Regions from separate parts of the Homo sapiens genome. Here region 2 is linked to region 1. Evidence: promoter capture Hi-C in 16 types of primary human blood cells and fetal thymus (Javierre and others, 2016). All regions are on one chromosome and are shown on one strand. Each heading gives the region's core, a stretch centred on a gene start or on the middle of the fragment in contact. The rest is flanking DNA. Distances are from core to core; before and after follow the strand shown. Region 1 holds the start of FOXM1 (forkhead box M1). Region 2 holds the start of TEAD4 (TEA domain transcription factor 4).

Region 1 (3,086 bases), core at 461-2,960:
AAAGTGATTATCTTCCAGGGCCCTTGGTCAGGGAATAGTGTCATTATTCCTTCAGTTATGCAGCTGAAAATCTTGACACTTCTACCTCCCATCCAACCCACCATCAAGCCCTGTCAACTTTACCTCTTAAACATGTTTTCTTAATGCCCCTTTTTTACTCTCTCTGTCTCCTTCTTTCTCTTCCTCTCTCTCTCTCCCTGCCACCCTTTTTCAAGCTCCAGCAGTTCTTGCCTGGAGTATTGCAACATCCAACTGTTCTGCCCTAATCCACTCTAGCAATCCCCGCTATAGAGGGACCTTTTAAAATGCAAATCTGACCTGGATTCACTTCTGCTTAAAGCTTATGACTGGTTTCCTTTAATTCTTGGATAAGCACAAAACTTCTCGGTATGGCTAAGGCTCTGCTTCCTCCGGCTCCAGCTTCAACTCACACCACACTCCATTCAGGTCGATTAGCTCAAACCCCTCAGATATTTCTCAGCCTTTGTACTCACTGTGCTTCCTCCTGCCATCCAGCCTTTGCACGCCTGATTCCCTCTGCTTAGAGGAGTTCCCTCCTTTCTTTGTAAAAGGCATCAGATCTCACACCAAGCTCTCATTACAAAAGCCTTTCCTGTCCTACCTCTCAAGATCTCGTTATTGTAAATACTCAAAGTATCATTAACCTCTAATGTTTCAATTTACAGCAATAATTCAACATTTGTTTGTTTTGGAGACGGTGTCTCCCTCTGTCGCCCAGGCTGGAGTGCAGTGGTGTGATCATGGCTTACCATAGCCTCCACCTCTCGGCCTCAGGTGATCCTTCCACCTCAGCCTCCAGAGTAGCTGGGACTACAGGCACGCACCACCACGCCCGGCTAATTTTTAGTAGAGAAGCGGTTTCGCTATGTTGCCAGGCTGGTCTCGAACTCGTGACCTCAAGTGATCCACCCGCCTCGGCCTCCTAAAGTGCTGGGATTACAGGCGTGAGCCACTATGCCCAGCCCACATTTGTTTATTTGATTAAAATGTCTGTGCCCCTCTTCCAGGATTGGGCTGTGAGCCCAGGGGAAGGAAAGAACCTTGTCTGCCATTGTATCTTCAGGGCCTAGCGGTGCCTGGCGCACAGCAGTTGCTCAACTAGACTGGTTGACTAAGTCAATAAATAAAGCACTACGGTCTATTATATCCGAAGGCTTGGCTTCGGGAGGGGCAAAAGACAGGTTTCGCGCTGAGGTAGGGTTCATGGTGCCGACATTTTTTTTCAAGATGGAAGAAAGCGGAGATAATACGCAGCCCTCAAAGGAACTTAGTCTAATCGGGGGGAGCAGACGATCGTTCACTGTGGGAAAATGGGGTACGATTTCCCCCAGTGAGGAAATCAACTAAAGCCGAGCTTTGAAAAGGGGAGCAGAGGAGCCTGAGGGGAAGCGGGGGCGTGTCGCCTGGCGTGACCAGCGCGGCAGGAAAAGCGGGCCCAGGGACCCGGGCCTGTCACGCCGCTTCCGCGCGTCCCCAAACTCTCCCTCGGCTCGCCCACCCACGCGGCGGGGACCCCTCCGGCCCCTCCCCGGCCCCACGGCCACTTCTTCCCCCACAAGCCGGCCTGCGGTCCGCCTTACCAGCCCGGGCCGGACGGGGCCGCAGCTCCTGGCAGACCGCACAGCCTTCGAGCCCGGAATGCCGAGACAAGGCCGGCGCCGATTGGCGACGTTCCGTCACGTGACCTTAACGCTCCGCCGGCGCCAATTTCAAACAGCGGAACAAACTGAAAGCTCCGGTGCCAGACCCCACCCCCGGCCCCGGCCCGGGACCCCCTCCCCTCCCGGGATCCCCCGGGGTTCCCACCCCGCCCGCACCGCCGGGGACCCGGCCGGTCCGGCGCGAGCCCCCGTCCGGGGCCCTGGCTCGGCCCCCAGGTTGGAGGAGCCCGGAGCCCGCCTTCGGAGCTACGGCCTAACGGCGGCGGCGACTGCAGTCTGGAGGTGAGCGGGATGCAGCAATGGAGTCCCAGGCCTGGCCTGGGCACAGGCGGGGAGCAAGGCCTCCGGGCGCGGAGGTCAGGGCGTCTAGCAGCAGGGCACGGGCCACGAGTGGAGATTTGGGTCACACGGGAAGAATCTGAGCCAGGGTGCAAGTTTTTTCTGCGTCCACCTCCTGGCCGTGGCCTTCTCACTGCTTAAAGCGCCCCTTGGCCTTCCCTGGAAGTCTGACCTCCGCACCCTGCCCGCGGCCTCGGGAGGGCTGGGGTGGCCTACCTTCTTAGGCCGACTGTGGCTGAGATGAAGACTGAGATTGTACTACATTGAGTCAAAGACCAACCTGCATACACACTCCCCTGCTCCCAGGCTGTCTCACCACTAGGCAACACCGCCTCCATCTTACTTACCCTTTTGCAGGGCCCTTTTCCTGGTTCTTGAGAATGTAGCAAGATTTCCCCGCTCAGGATGGGGATGGGTCGGAGGAGCCACTCTGGAAGTTTCCCGGGCAAGAAAGTGTTGGCAATAATAATAACGGGCTGGTCAGGAAGTAGAAGAGAAAATTAAGACTTAGATATCCTGTGGAAAAAGAGGAATAATATCTACTGATTGATGCGGGGAGAGAGGGAAGCCTGGAAAGATCGGAGGTGAAAGTAAAACTGAGATTTGAAGGTAGAGGTGTGGAGGGCCTGTGAACTCTATGCAGATGACAAATGTCAAAAAAGTGCAGTTGCTTTTCAGGGAGAGAATAAGTGTCCTAAAAAAGAGACAGCCAATTCCTCTGTCTTCCAAAGTTCCGTGAAATAGAATTACACAATTTTGCTTAATGGTAGAATATTCCATGTATCTATTAAAATCAACAAAAGGCCGGGCGCAGTGGCTCACGCCTGTAATCCCAGCACTTTGGGAGGCCGAGGCGGGTGGATCACCTGAGGAGTTCAAGACCAGCCTGGCAAACATGGTGAAACCCTGTTTCTACTAAAAAAAAAAAAAAAAAATTAGCTGGGCATGGTGGTGCATGCCTGTAATTGCAGCTACTCGGGAGGCTGAGGCAGGAGAATCGCTTGAACCCGGGAGGCCGAGGTTGCAGTGAGCTGAGATTGCGCCATTGCACTCCAGCCTGGGTGA
Region 2 (3,245 bases), core at 441-2,940, 82 kb before region 1:
CGCCCATCCCATCCCCCAAAGGCAAAGATCTCAACTTCCTTCAGCCTCCTACCAGCTTTTTGACCTATTCCAGGCAAGCACAAGACCCTCGCCCTGAGAAAGTCAGCCTCCTGGCTCCAAGAGGCAGGTGGAGCCAGCTTCCTTCCAGCTCTGCCCGGTCCAGGGGAAACGGAGCCTGGAGGCCACACACTCCAAAACCACAGTCAAATTATCCCTGCACTCAGGCAACCAGAGACACTGACTCTTGCCCACGGCTATGTAGGGAGGAAGAACAGTCCTAGCCAGAACCAACATCCTCGAAGAGAAACACATACTCAAGAGACGTGGCATCACACACCTACTCAGAGATACTCACTTTCAGACAGCCCCTTCTCACGCAGACATATACACACACTCTGTCACTCACGTTCAACACAAACAAATACGCCCACTGGAAGCCAAGGTGAGCCACACGTGAACAGACATCACCCACACAGAGACTCAAAGCGAGGGGGACTCGCAGTCAGGTGTCACACAGACTCAGCACAGACGCAGTCAGTCCGCGGGGCCTCAAGTGCCTCAGCACAACGGGGGAAATGTTCACTTTGGGGTTTGAAAGTTCTGCTCCCTGGATCGATCCACTAGTCCCCATCAGGAAACACAGCAGCTTCCCAAGCCCTGAGGTGTAGGACCTTTTGCAGGGGTCCCCCGACTTTCGCATCGCCTTTGCACTTAAAACAGGCAGTCCGCTTACCTCCAGGTCTCTCCCTTCCAGGCTCGAAAAGGGCCCAGCAGAAAAGAGGCATGGGTGCTGGGTCTCTTCTGTTGCCGATGCTCTCGGTTCTGCCTCTCCGGTCCTTTCCACACCGGCCTCCCTTTCCCCCAAAGTCCCGAGTGTCCACCCCCCTTACCCGCCCCTGGAGCCGCTTCGCCTCCAGCAGCCTCAGTCGCGCCGCCTCCACGTGCCTCGCTCTTCCCAGTCTCGTCCCGGGAGGGAGCTCCGCACGCACCGCGCAGACTCCTGCCCTCCGGCAAAGTCCTACCAAGTCCCCGCGCCCCAGCCTTACCGGTCCCAGGGTGCGGGAAGGTGGGATGGGTGCGCTAAGCCAGTTCCAAGGAGTCCGCCCCGAGCGCCAACTCTTCCGGCCGCGGCGATCGTTCTGCGGGGACGACAGGGCGTCAGCGCGCAGAGCCGGGCTCCGGCCGGGGCCGACGGGCGGCGCAGTGAAGGCGGGGCCGCGGGGCCAAGCCCACCCCGCGCCGACCGGCCCCGGTGCGCCCAGCGGAGCGGAGCGGAGCGCGCGGAGGGAGGAGTTTTCCCAGAATGGGACTGACGGGAAAACACGGGGATCCCTATTCCTGGAGGAGTGAGTCAACCGGGAGCGAGGAGGGGAGCGCGGGGCGGACAGGAGGGAAGCGGGAGAGGGGCAGCGAGCAGCGCCGGAGCGCGGAGGGAAGCCAGAGGTCGGGACGGAGCGCGTCGGAGCGCAGAGGTCCAAGGCGGGAACGCGGGCGGCGGAAAGAAAAGAGCAGCCGAGCACGCGGCGCGAGCGGTCGGCTGCGGCGGCGTGGGGCGCGCGGCCCGTGAGGGCGCCGGCGGGTGCGGCGGGCGCGGGCGCCTCTCACCTGGCGGGACGCGGCGGCGCCGGAGCTGCGGCCCTCCCGCCCCCTGGCCTCGAGTGTGCGAGGAGGACGCTGGAATGCGCGGAATGAGGGCTGGAATGAGATGCGCGCCGCGGCGGGAGGGAGGGAGCCGGAGGGAGTGGCGGCGGGGCCACCGGCACCTCGGGGAGGAGACTGCGCCGCGCGCGGGCGGGCGAGGGGCCGGGCCGCCGGGGCGGGGCGGGGCCGGGCCGGGCCGGGGCGGGCGGCGGGGGAGGGGGCCGAGGGACGGCGGGGACCCCTCCACCCGGGCCTCGGCTGCGGCCCCCACGCCCACTAGCCCTTCGATCTCTCCGCTCCGACTGTTTGGCTGCTCGTTGCGCGCCCCGCGCCCTCCCCTCCTGGCGGGGTCCCGACTCCCTTTCCCAGGAGCCGAGAGCCTTCCTCTTCGCCGGGGTGGGGCTGTCCCGGGGGCGGGGGGGTGGACGGGGCCCAGACTCCCGCCCCGCCACCCGGCGTCCCTCCGCACGAGTCCCTGGGAGGCCGGGGAAGGGGCGGGCTCCCGGCGCGCAGGAAGGGCTGCTCCCTTCCTGCGGCTCCCACCAAAGGACACTTGCTCCGGGGAACCAGGAAGCAGGAACTCGCGGGCTCCATTCCCAGATCCGCTGCCAGTGCCCCCTCGCTTGCCCTCCCCGGCTTTAGCTCTTTCCGTTTTTCTCTCCTGCCCCTTGGGCATCTGTAAAACCGCCACTACGAGTAAACCACATGGGAGAAAGGGCACTCGGTTTGAAGTCCATGTGGCATGCCATGGGACGCCTTCTGGGCTCAGTGACTCAATGAATATTCATCTAAGATGTGTGATGAGTCCAGATACTGTGAAGATCAGGATCAGCCGTCAGCACCTGCCCTCAAAGAGCTCAGAGTTTAGCTGGGGAGGCCTCGGTGTATACTGCCATCGGTGAGAGTCTGGACTTCAGACACACATGCCCAGGAGTCTCTTATTGGGGCAGGAGGTGCTGGAAACACGCTGGGCTCCTTGTTTGGAGACGCTTAGGACAAACGGGCTTAAAGCAGTGTGCTGGCAGGTAGCGCCATCATCTACCTGGCCAGGAGACTGAAACCAAAGGACTTTTGGCTTTTTCCAAAAATCAAATCCAACCTTTTCTGGGGCATTATCACTTAGCCTTGTGTTGGGTGGTTGTCTAGATCTTATCTCCCTTGCCAAACAGAAACTTCCTTGAAGACAGAGTAATGTCTGATTTATCTTATCTTTCACACAGATCCAGCCTGGTGCCTGGGATAGGGAAGTGCATGATAAATGCTGCATAAATGAAAAACAATTGCTACCGTGGAAGATATTGAAAGGAAAGTGCTATCGATGCCAAAGTTGTTTCCAAGAGAGGTATTCCAAAAGTGTTTCAAGCAATGACTGAGCTAAGCATCCAGTCCTGCAAGGTGAAGGCGTTGAAGACGCAGCCCTCATTTGAATAGATGAATTGTGGTATTCTTGTTAAATAATGAATCATATCAAGGCTTGGTCACACCTCATGCACATGAAAAGACCAAAACGCAAGGCAGCATATCAGCGCCACGTGAAGTACACACTAAGCACCAACTATTTAATTCAGCAATCATGGGGGGCCCGGTGGCTCACGCCTGTCATC

What was found. Contacts are between HindIII fragments. The CHiCAGO score rates a contact against its expected background, and 5 or more counts as called.
Region 2: the fragment with the promoter of TEAD4 here is called in contact with the fragment with the promoter of FOXM1 in region 1 in 1 of 17 cell types (endothelial precursors); the score reaches 5.5 in endothelial precursors.

What each region holds. Positions count from the first base shown.
Region 1 is chr12:2,875,798-2,878,883 of GRCh38, reverse strand. FOXM1 (forkhead box M1) reads left to right here and starts at 1,710. Exons shown (of 9, transcript NM_021953.4): 1 at 1,710-1,964. It overlaps RHNO1 (RAD9-HUS1-RAD1 interacting nuclear orphan 1), which reads right to left and starts at 1,661. Exons shown (of 3, transcript NM_001252499.3): 1 at 1,602-1,661. RefSeq lists silencers at 1,405-1,844, 1,885-1,954. The HindIII fragment of the contact is 3,757 bases long and covers 343-3,086 here.
Region 2 is chr12:2,957,842-2,961,086 of GRCh38, reverse strand. It overlaps TEAD4 (TEA domain transcription factor 4), which reads right to left and starts at 1,690. Exons shown (of 13, transcript NM_003213.4): 1 at 1,606-1,690; 2 at 1,047-1,139. LOC124902859 (a long non-coding RNA gene) reads left to right here and starts at 1,039. Exons shown (of 2, transcript XR_007063159.1): 1 at 1,039-1,346; 2 at 2,862-3,245. RefSeq lists an enhancer at 785-1,520. The HindIII fragment of the contact is 21,466 bases long and covers 1-3,245 here.